Regions from separate parts of the Homo sapiens genome. Here regions 1 and 2 are each linked to region 3. Evidence: promoter capture Hi-C in human tissues and cell types (Jung and others, 2019). All regions are on one chromosome and are shown on one strand. Each heading gives the region's core, a stretch centred on a gene start or on the middle of the fragment in contact. The rest is flanking DNA. Distances are from core to core; before and after follow the strand shown.

Region 1 (3,578 bases), core at 738-3,237, 290 kb before region 3:
GGTCTACTTTAGGTCTTGAGCTTTGCTCCTTTGCAGGAAGATACTTATTCCTTGGCATCACATAGGCTCTTTGTATATCCCCAAATCTGGAAGCAAATATTTAAATACAAAAGCATCTGGGCATGGTGGCTCATGCCTGTAATCCCAGCACTTTGGAGGCCGAGGTGGGCGAATCACTTGAGGTCAGGAGTTTGAAACCAGCCTGGCCAACACGGTGAAACCCTCTCTCTACTAAAAATACAGAAGTTAGCTGGGTGTGGTAGTGCACACCTGTAATCCAAGCTACTCAGGAGGCTGAGGCAGGAGAATCACTTGAACCCAGGAGGCAGAGGTTGCAGTGAGCCAAAATGGCACCACTGAACTCCAGCATGGGTGATGGAGGGACATTCCATTTCAAAACCAAGGAAAGAGAAGGAAGGAAGGAAGGAAAGAAAGAAAGAGAAAGGAAAGAAGGGAGGGAGGGAAGAAAGGAAAGAAGGAAAGGAAAGGAAGGAAGGAAGGAAGGGAAAGAGGAAGGAAGACAGGCAAGCAACCCAATGAGTCTAATAGTAGCACTAAGTTAGTTTAATCTGCAGAATTGAACCTAGAAAATCAAAGCTTGGAATCTTCACTTTTGTAAAATGCCCAAAGCAATTTACCCATCTACTCTGCCTTCTCTGTTCTTTCTTCAACTTGAAAGAGAATTAAACGTCAGATTTACAGCTCAGATTCAGGTTACTTTATGTCAAATTCTCTATCTACGTAGACAAATTCAGCCAGGTCTTGCTATGCTGGAGCAGCTTTCACTGTGGGAGGAGGTGGTGGAAGTATTATGGAAGTTACTACTTATCACTGGGTGCTGAGAAGCAGCATGCTCCGCCATTCTCATTACCAAACTTGTAGTCAGAAGAACTCTGCCTGAGCCCCTGGTCTGCTGCTTCCTTGCTTAGTGATCCAGAACAGGACCTATTAACTTTCTCAGTCTCCAAAAGAAAAATCTTGCCCCTTGAATAGTGCTGACCTAAAGTTAATACTCAGTAAGCATTCATGAAATGAATAAATGTTACAGAAAGTGACATCAGTAATTATGTTCTACGTATTTGTGCTGTCGTCCCTTAAAACTGTGGATATAAGTCCACAGTCTATATCAAGTCAAACTTAGTTAAGTTAGCCTGCACCATTTAGCCAGGAATGTATGTGCTCCTGTTACAAAATGAAAGTAACTGGCCTAGAAGCCTGACACATCAGTTGTCATCTTTAATGTCCCTTCATCATACAATTCCTCGATGGCTTCATATATCACCTGTCAGGTAATCTTCCAGAGAAGCTTGACTTTAACCATTTGTTCTGTGGTTCAAGTGATGAATGAGATGGGTTAGATCATTTAATTCACTATATGGCACCCAAATGTTAAAGCTGGAGGAAAAGAATGTCTGACAAATTGTTTGTTGTCATTAAGGTTTATTTCTCATATGCCTTTGATGGTTCCCCTCACCTCATTATTGTCCAACACACAAAGCTAACTATTATAAGGAAGACAATACTTAATGGATGCTAGACAAATGATAGTTGGAGCTGTCTGGTGCACTACCTGATAAGTGAGAGCTAAATTATAATGTCATTAGATGGAATGCCTCAAGTTATTATAAAGTTGTGCTTCCCACAATGTCCTTGCTTTATCCTCAGCATGGTTCTTCCTGGCATCCGTTTTCACTCAGCAGCTGCCTTGTTTCCAGAACAGCTGAGACCGAGTGTTGAATCCTCTGTTATGCCAATTTTAAAATGTCCAACCAATACTGAGAATGTGTGTTTTGAGTATTAATGTCATCCAAACATAAACTTTAAGAAAATAAAAACGACATATTTTACAAATGCAGCCTTTAAAAATTTGTAACAATACAGTTAAAAACTTTGTATAATTCACAGGAAGACTGGGTATATAGAACCATAAATCCCCATTTACACTATCTTTTTCTCCAGGCACAAATTCCCTTCTTAGATTGTTCGTATGACAATTTCCTACCCAGTCCTTACAACATATTGACACTCAGTTAATAATTCAAGATGAATGAATGAATTTATGAATGAGAGGAAGTACATTCAAATATACAGATACTAAAAGCATGTTAGTGTAAAATATTTTGCGGACAAGTTGATTGTAAAGAAAATTAATTTCACTTCATCCACAAGGAAGTTAGGATTTCTTGGCATTTTGTGTTTGCAACAAACAAATAATCCTGATTATTATTTAAAATAGCTCCATGAGTTCACTTAGTGTTTGTCAGATTTTAACAATACCTGACAAACAGAGCTCTGTATTTATTCGTGCATATGAAGAGCAAGCTTCATTATTTTTTGGTATTAGGTAGATCAACCAGCAGACTCACTCATTCAGTGACCATAAATGTTGTATAATGCATTAATGACTCCTTAAGTAGAGCTCACAAAAGTACCACCCCAGTTTCTTGTACTAAGTAGCATATTTCAAATATAATTTTTCTGTTTCACTGGTTGTGAATACTACTAAATCAGATATATCTGGGTTTAAATCCTGGCTCTACCAATTACAAACTTCTTCAACTCTATGCCTCATTTCTTCATCTTTAAAATGAGAATAAAAATCATACCATCAAAGAGTTGTTATGAAAATTGTTTGCCTGTAAAGAATTTAGAGCAGTGTCTGGCACTTAGTAGGTATTCAATAAATGTTAGCTAATGTTGTAGAGTTGTAAATAATTTTAGTCTTGTTAATTTTCCAAAGTGATAAAGCAGGAAGGGTTAAAGGCCCCTAGTTCACCTTAGGTCCTGCCTGGCCCTTAAGCCAATGTAATCCAAAAGAAATGTGAGAGCCACATGTGTAACTTAAAATATTTTAGTAGTGGCATTAAAAAAGGTAAAAAGAAACAGATACCATTAATTTTGATAATATACTTTCTTTAACCCTGTATATCCAAGAATAGTAACATTTTAACATGTACCCAACATAAACAATTTAATAAGGTATTATACTTTTTTTTTTCTTACTAAGGCTTCAAAATATGGCATATATTCTATACTTTTAGCACATCTCAATTTGGGAGCTGAGTTTTGATTAGGAAGAGTTGGTTTCGATTACATAAAATTTACAGTTGAACAAATGAACACACATCCAAGTTATTTCAAAGATATTTAGAAGTTTTTACATTAAATCTAGTTCTTAAATTTAAATTTAAATTAATAAACTCAGTTTCTCTGTCCCACTAGTCGTATTTCAAGTTCACCATAGTTCCATATGGCTAGCACCACCCAAATTAGACAGCACAATCCTCAGCAATCTCAAGTTGAACATACCCAAGACCCTGCCACTCCACCTATCATAAAGCTGAACTACATTTTAAGCTCCGGTGTTAGGATACAGGAGGTTTGAGCAGGATGTTACGAAGAGAAGAGGCTGAGTCTACATGACATCGTAAATCTGCTATAAAAGTGAAGACACAATGGTGAAATTGGTGGTGAGGGATTAAGGAAGCCAAAACATATTCATAGAAATAGAAGCTTCAGCCATGCATGGCCCTATGGAATGCTTGGTCCCCTCTGTGCCTTTTTCTGCACTACTCACT
Region 2 (3,520 bases), core at 820-3,319, 280 kb after region 3:
CTCTGTCACCCAGGCTGGAGTGCAGTGGTGCTATCTCAGCTCACTGCAACCTCCGCCTCCTGGGTTCAAGCGATTCTCCTGCCTCAGCCTCCTAAGTAGCTGGGATTACAGGTGCATGCCACCAGGCCCAGCTAATTTTGGTTATTTTTAGTAAAGACAGGGTTTCACCATGTTGGTCAGGCTGGTCTCGAACTCCTGACCTCTTGATCCTCCCACCTCGGCCTCCCAAAGTGCTGGGATTACAGGCGTGAGCCACCGCGCCCAGACTCGAGTGTATTTTTCTACCTTTACAACATAGTGAAAAGCACCCAAACTTTAGAATTACATAGATCTGGGTTCAAATTCTAGATTTATTGTTTAATAGTTATATGACTTTGGATAAGCTCTATAACCTCTTAGCTTGATTTTCCTCATTTATAAAATGTCAGAGAAAAATAGCACCCCTTGAGGTTGTCATGCAGTATAAATGAAGTACTATTTATCAGGTCTCAAGCATGAAGCTTGGCACACAGTGAAGTGGAACTGTTGCTTCCTCAGACACGGTTCACATGGGCTAATATCTGCACTTTGCATAGCCCACTCTAAAGGAACGTATCACATTATCTTATATTTAGTTGTCCATGTGCCTGCCTCCCCACCAGAACACCTGTTTCTTTTTGTAGTTCAGAGCCTGACATACAGGTGCTCAGAATATAGTCATTGGATGGAAATTAAAAATAAAATAACCTTTAGTAGTAACCTAATTTCCAGGCAATATTCTCTTTATCTGGAACCTTGACAAAACTTTTTTCTTTTTTTTTTTCTTTCCTTCCTTTTCTTTTCTTTCCTTCTTTCAGTTGTACATTTCCAATGCTGTTTTTTCTTTGGTAAAATGGAGTCCCTCTCTAGGGGCTGCTGTGAGGATTACATGACTCAAGTCTGTGAAGGGCTTTGCACAGGACCTGGTATAGTGCAGTTGCTTGGCAGGGGCCATGGAAGGGTGTTGAGACAGGGTCTCACTCTGTTGCCCAGACTGGTTTTGACCTCTTGGGCTCGAGCAATCCCCCTGCGTTAGCCTCCCATAGCACTGGGATTACAGGTGTGAGCCACCATGCCCAGCCTAGTGCAGATAATTGTGTAAGTGCTTCTGATAATTGTGTCCAACTTGTGTATTTGCTATTACAGAAGAACAGCTTTTGAGGTAATTTATGTTGAAATTTCTATCTCTTAAAAACATGTTTTCATTACAAAACTAATACATGCTCACCGTTAAAAATTTGGCAAATATAGAAAATAGAGACTCCTCAGTCTAATGATTGGCTCCTTTCTGAGGCTTCTGTGGAGCAGATTTATGGTGGGCAACATTCTTCTTGCAAGGCATGAGAAAATTAGAAACCTGGACTGGAATACTCGCACAGAACCGCAGATGTAGAAATTCTCAAGCTTGGGCAGTCTAGACCTAGAGCACATGTCCTGGTAAAGCTCCTGAATTGGTTTGGAGAACCTAATCAATGATAGGCTTACCTACATGACACCTTTCATTCCAGTCAGCGTTTCTGAAGCCTGCCTTGGTGAAATCACAGCGTGGCTGCAGAACTGACATGGGCCCAATTGTCCTACCACTCGTAGCATCACCACCTGGACTCAGACAGCTTTGGCTACTGGTCCAGACACCTGGCTCTCAAGCCCTGATTTTGGTGAAGTTTGTCTAGTGTTGGTTTATAAAAGCCTATAGTGTCAGTAAGGTTCTGCCCACACTAATAACCCTACTCAACTAGTTACAGTTGTCTCATCAGCTGCTTTAAATACCTTCTCTCATTTTGGAGCACCTAACAACACAGAAACCCAGCCCTGTCTCTCACTCAATGAACTGACCCTTTAGTGGTGGATCTAGTGACTGTGTATGGAAATGGCCCATATTAGCAGTGTGGCCACACACGTGCTTATTGTCTTCTCTTTCTTTCCATAAGTGAGGAGCATCACTAAGGGTACACCAACAATTTTATTCTTTTGATTCAACATCAGAACTTCCAAAGTGGCCCTTCCTGTCCATCCCCGTTGTTTCAGTCTTCTTGAGGCCCTAACATGTGCTATCCTATAGGGTACTTCAACCCCGTTACAATCCACATTTTTCAGTCCAACTTCTTGGAAAAAAAGATGTAGCCAATACCCAGCTGCTGCAGTTTGCTGCCCAGGAGTTTATCACCATTGTCCATAAGTCCATGCTTCTCCAATGCTATTTTCTTTGCCAAGAATATTCTATCTCTTGGAAAAGTCCTGCTATTTTACCTAATCTGAATGTTGCTACGGTAAAATCTTAGTTGATTCTGGAAAACAGTTATCCACTTCTTTCCAATGCTTTCAGAGCCCACAGTTTTGCCTCTTTTACTGCCCTTATAGTATGTTGTAATTATCTATTTATACATCTGTCTCCTCCCACTGGAATGTGAGATTGTGGAAGCCAGCAATAGCTCATATTCGCGGGTGCATCCCCAGCCCCTAGCGCATAGTAGGCGTGTAGTGTTGATTGGAGGAGTGACTAGTGACTAGAATCAATGTTCTTTTGCTCATGGAAAATGGCTTTTAGGCTAATATGCTTTTGTGATTTAGCAAAAAATGATAAAGTTCAAAGTGGAAAAAAGTTTCCTAACCTGTTGTGACATACAGCAAGAGATTTTATTGCATATTTCTGTTTTTATCTGCCATATGGCTTTCCATTCACAAACTGCTCTAGTGAGAATTAGTTTTGCAGGTAATTTTCTAATGATTGTCTTGGGATAAACAAATTTATCAGACTTGTTTGGCTAATGTATTCAAGGAGGTTCACAGGGGAAAAGATTAATCATCTAAGAAGCAAGCGGGTGTCTGTCATTAGGCGGAAGGGTCCAGAGAGATGATCGGAGCTGAGCGAGTGGTTGCTATGACTGCAGATACCTTTCTCTCCCTTTGTGAGGTCAACAGCAGCTCCCAAGCTGATTGGCTAAAATTAGATTATCCTGCTGACCAACTATGGGAAGTTAATTTCATCAGAAAGAGAAAAATGGTAGGAAATCCTGCTGTGATGCTACAAAGGAATTTTCTTTAGAAACCCAGAGTCCAAGTTTGCTTTCATTATAATTAATATGTTCCGTCTAATAAAATAATTTAAGGGAAGCAGACAATAGCATTAGTCTATTATTTTGTATATCCATATAAGCTTTAATCTTGTTTGTCCTAAAACCAACTCTCAAAGTTAAAGTTACCTTTATTTTCCTGTAAATACCTTCCATAACCAAAGACTGTAATCGTGTATGTGTTTATATAATTGGAGATAGGCTAATTGTGAAAAATACAAAAGGAGCTGGCACAATTAAAGGTATCTGCTTACAGGGCTCTTGCCCTAGGGAAATAGTAGGCACAAAAAACTTTAAGCAGAATCATTTACCTTTGGATTGAGAGCATAGTTTTAATTGAATTTGAATAGAATTCTGCCTTCCAAAGGGTTCTGTCCCTGTAAGTCTTATACTGCCTACCCTCTGGCTTTCCACCTGGTAAATCCTTT
Region 3 (3,624 bases), core at 985-3,484:
GCGAATCTACCAGCAGGGGGCGCACCAGCCACATCCCTGAAACCAGCCGCGCTGAAAAGCCGGTGGCCGCCTTCTCTTCCCCAGATCTTCTCAACCTTTTCTCTTTCCTAATCTCCAGGTCCGTGTTTACCTTAATATTACACCTGGATTAAACAGAAAACAGTGCTGTATTTTGAAGAGCGCCGAATATGTATGCATTTTGAGAAACCCAATCTCACCCTTTCCGGGTTCCCAAGAACTAAAACAAGCCATAACTTGAGAGAAAAAGGAGAACCTTCGGGGGGCAGGAAGGTTGATTGGAAATAACTTAAGGAAAGTCTGCAGAATTCTTTTTTTTACAACTTTTCTGAGTTTCCAGTGGGTATATTTAGTGTGAGTTTGACAGTAACAGGCTAGGGAGGGCAGAGATTGGAGAAATTGGGGGTCGGGGGAGTGATTATGGGAAGAAGGTTAGTAAGGAACAAAACAATGCACCGTTTTGTAAAGATAATAAATGGAACGTGGCTGGTAGATACTATTCAGTACATTTTCTTAGGGTGAGTAAGGGTAGACCAGGGGAGGAGGGGGCGGAGAGAGTGTTACAGAAGAAAGAAAATAAGTAACCCTGATGGTTTAAGCCCTTTATAAAAAAGAAATGGCATCAGGTTTTTTTTTCTTTATTCCCCCCCACCCCACCCTTTGTAGTCAAGTGCATTTTAGCCACAAAGATCCCAACAAGAGAGTGGAAGGAAACTTAGACGAGGCTTTGTTTGACTCCGTGTAGCGACAACAAGAGAAACAAAACTACCTATTTGTAACGGACGTGCTGCCATTGCCCTCCGCATTGAGCGCCTACCTATTGAAATCTTTACGTCGGGACAATGGGAGAGCGGCTAAAATTACCCTCTTGGGTCCTGGGCGGGCAAGATTCCTGAGCCCCTACCCCCGCCCCCATCTCATCCTCCTCTAACCCGGGCCTTGCTGGGCTCCCCCTTCCCCAGTCCCGGCCGCCTTCTCCCAGTGTGCGCTGCCTGCACCTGTGCCTGGAGAGCATCGACCCCGCCTCCCAGGCCTTGAGCCCCTTTGCGGCGCAGCCCCAGCCTTGCGCGGCCTGGGCTTTGCGGCCACCACAATGGAAATCTACGGGGAAAATGCCAGGGCTGGTTCTGCTGGAGTCCTGGGAACTCTGCGTGGGAGGGAGTTTGTGACTGCGGCCCAAAAGCCACCTCCATACAGTGCCGTGGGATGCCAGGAAGTTGAAATCACCCTCCCCCATCGCCTGCACTTTTGAGCGCCCTTCCGTCTGTGTCTTTCCCCAGCCCCCATTTGAAAGCCGCACGACCGAAACCCTTCTTACGGGGAGGCATGGGATGGGAATGGGGAGTGGGGGCAGACAGTAGAAGCATCCCCTTTGCTACGGTTGAATGAAGACAGTCTAGTGGGAGATGTGGCTGGGGCTAAGAGGAAGAGCTGCAGTTTCCTGGGCCAAAGAGCTGAGTTGGACAGGGAGATGGCAGCTTACCAAGGCCTGCTGGTTCTCAGCTCTAGAGTCTGCCTTATGGTCCGAGCAGGATTTATTTTTAAGAACAGAGCAAGTTACGTGGAAGCAAGGAAGGTTTTGAGGACAGAGGTTTGGGTCTCCTAACTTCTAGTCGGGACTGTGAGAAGGGCGTGAGAGAGTGTTGGCACCTGTAAGGTAAGAGAGGAGAGCGGAAGAGCGCAGTACGGGAGCGGCACCAGAGGGGCTGGAGTTGGGGGGGAGTGCTGTGGATGAGCGGGAGAACAATGACACACCAACTCCTGCACTGGCTGTTTCCAGAAATACGAGTTGGACAGCCGCCCTGAGCCACCCACTGTGCCCTGCCCCACCCCCGCACCTTAGCTGCTTCCCGCGTCCCATCCTCATTTAAGTACCCTGCACCAAAAAGTAAATCAATATTAAGTTTAAAGAAAAAAAAACCCACGTAGTCTTAGTGCTGTTTACCCACTTCCTTCGAAAAGGCGTGTGGTGTGACCTGTTGCTGCGAGAGGGGATACAAAGGTTTCTCAGTGGCTGGCAGGCTGGCTCTGGGAGCCTCCTCCCCCTCCTCGCCTGCCCCCTCCTCCCCCGGCCTCCCCCGCGCGGCCGGCGGCGCGGGAGGCCCCGCCCCCTTTCATGCAAAACCCGGCAGCGAGGCTGGGCTCGAGTGGAGGAGCCGCCGCGCGCTGATTGGTCGCTAGAAACCCATTTATTCCCTGACAGCCCCCGTCACATGGATGGTTGTCTATTAACTTGTTCAAAAAAGTATCAGGAGTTGTCAAGGCAGAGAAGAGAGTGTTTGCAAAAGGGGGAAAGTAGTTTGCTGCCTCTTTAAGACTAGGACTGAGAGAAAGAAGAGGAGAGAGAAAGAAAGGGAGAGAAGTTTGAGCCCCAGGCTTAAGCCTTTCCAAAAAATAATAATAACAATCATCGGCGGCGGCAGGATCGGCCAGAGGAGGAGGGAAGCGCTTTTTTTGATCCTGATTCCAGTTTGCCTCTCTCTTTTTTTCCCCCAAATTATTCTTCGCCTGATTTTCCTCGCGGAGCCCTGCGCTCCCGACACCCCCGCCCGCCTCCCCTCCTCCTCTCCCCCCGCCCGCGGGCCCCCCAAAGTCCCGGCCGGGCCGAGGGTCGGCGGCCGCCGGCGGGCCGGGCCCGCGCACAGCGCCCGCATGTACAACATGATGGAGACGGAGCTGAAGCCGCCGGGCCCGCAGCAAACTTCGGGGGGCGGCGGCGGCAACTCCACCGCGGCGGCGGCCGGCGGCAACCAGAAAAACAGCCCGGACCGCGTCAAGCGGCCCATGAATGCCTTCATGGTGTGGTCCCGCGGGCAGCGGCGCAAGATGGCCCAGGAGAACCCCAAGATGCACAACTCGGAGATCAGCAAGCGCCTGGGCGCCGAGTGGAAACTTTTGTCGGAGACGGAGAAGCGGCCGTTCATCGACGAGGCTAAGCGGCTGCGAGCGCTGCACATGAAGGAGCACCCGGATTATAAATACCGGCCCCGGCGGAAAACCAAGACGCTCATGAAGAAGGATAAGTACACGCTGCCCGGCGGGCTGCTGGCCCCCGGCGGCAATAGCATGGCGAGCGGGGTCGGGGTGGGCGCCGGCCTGGGCGCGGGCGTGAACCAGCGCATGGACAGTTACGCGCACATGAACGGCTGGAGCAACGGCAGCTACAGCATGATGCAGGACCAGCTGGGCTACCCGCAGCACCCGGGCCTCAATGCGCACGGCGCAGCGCAGATGCAGCCCATGCACCGCTACGACGTGAGCGCCCTGCAGTACAACTCCATGACCAGCTCGCAGACCTACATGAACGGCTCGCCCACCTACAGCATGTCCTACTCGCAGCAGGGCACCCCTGGCATGGCTCTTGGCTCCATGGGTTCGGTGGTCAAGTCCGAGGCCAGCTCCAGCCCCCCTGTGGTTACCTCTTCCTCCCACTCCAGGGCGCCCTGCCAGGCCGGGGACCTCCGGGACATGATCAGCATGTATCTCCCCGGCGCCGAGGTGCCGGAACCCGCCGCCCCCAGCAGACTTCACATGTCCCAGCACTACCAGAGCGGCCCGGTGCCCGGCACGGCCATTAACGGCACACTGCCCCTCTCACACATGTGA

What was found. The method cuts DNA at HindIII sites, captures the fragments that hold promoters and counts their contacts. A contact is called where the count stands out against the background at its distance.
Region 1: a contact is called between a fragment that was not itself captured here and the fragment with the promoter of SOX2 in region 3, in 2 of the 25 tissues and cell types used here (aorta and dorsolateral prefrontal cortex).
Region 2: a contact is called between a fragment that was not itself captured here and the fragment with the promoter of SOX2 in region 3, in 3 of the 25 tissues and cell types used here (heart right ventricle, lymphoblastoid cells and spleen).

What each region holds. Positions count from the first base shown.
Region 1 is chr3:181,423,580-181,427,157 of GRCh38, forward strand. The region is part of intron 3 of SOX2-OT (SOX2 overlapping transcript); the gene reads left to right. The region is part of intron 3 of LOC102724604 (a long non-coding RNA gene); the gene reads right to left. Among named protein-coding and RNA genes, the nearest start is that of SOX2, 290 kb to the right of the region's middle. The HindIII fragment of the contact is 3,615 bases long and covers 181-3,578 here.
Region 2 is chr3:181,985,038-181,988,557 of GRCh38, forward strand. All of the region lies in intron 5 of LINC01206 (long intergenic non-protein coding RNA 1206), which reads left to right. Among named protein-coding and RNA genes, the nearest start is that of LINC01206, 34 kb to the left of the region's middle. The HindIII fragment of the contact is 4,000 bases long and covers 70-3,520 here.
Region 3 is chr3:181,709,691-181,713,314 of GRCh38, forward strand. It overlaps SOX2 (SRY-box transcription factor 2), which reads left to right and starts at 2,235. Exons shown (of 1, transcript NM_003106.4): 1 at 2,235-3,624. The coding sequence starts at 2,671. The coding sequence ends at 3,624. All of the region lies in intron 6 of SOX2-OT (SOX2 overlapping transcript), which reads left to right. RefSeq lists enhancers at 664-1,517, 1,518-2,370, 2,371-3,224, 3,225-3,624, a promoter at 1,463-2,496 and a silencer at 2,076-2,135. The HindIII fragment of the contact is 19,833 bases long and covers 1-3,624 here.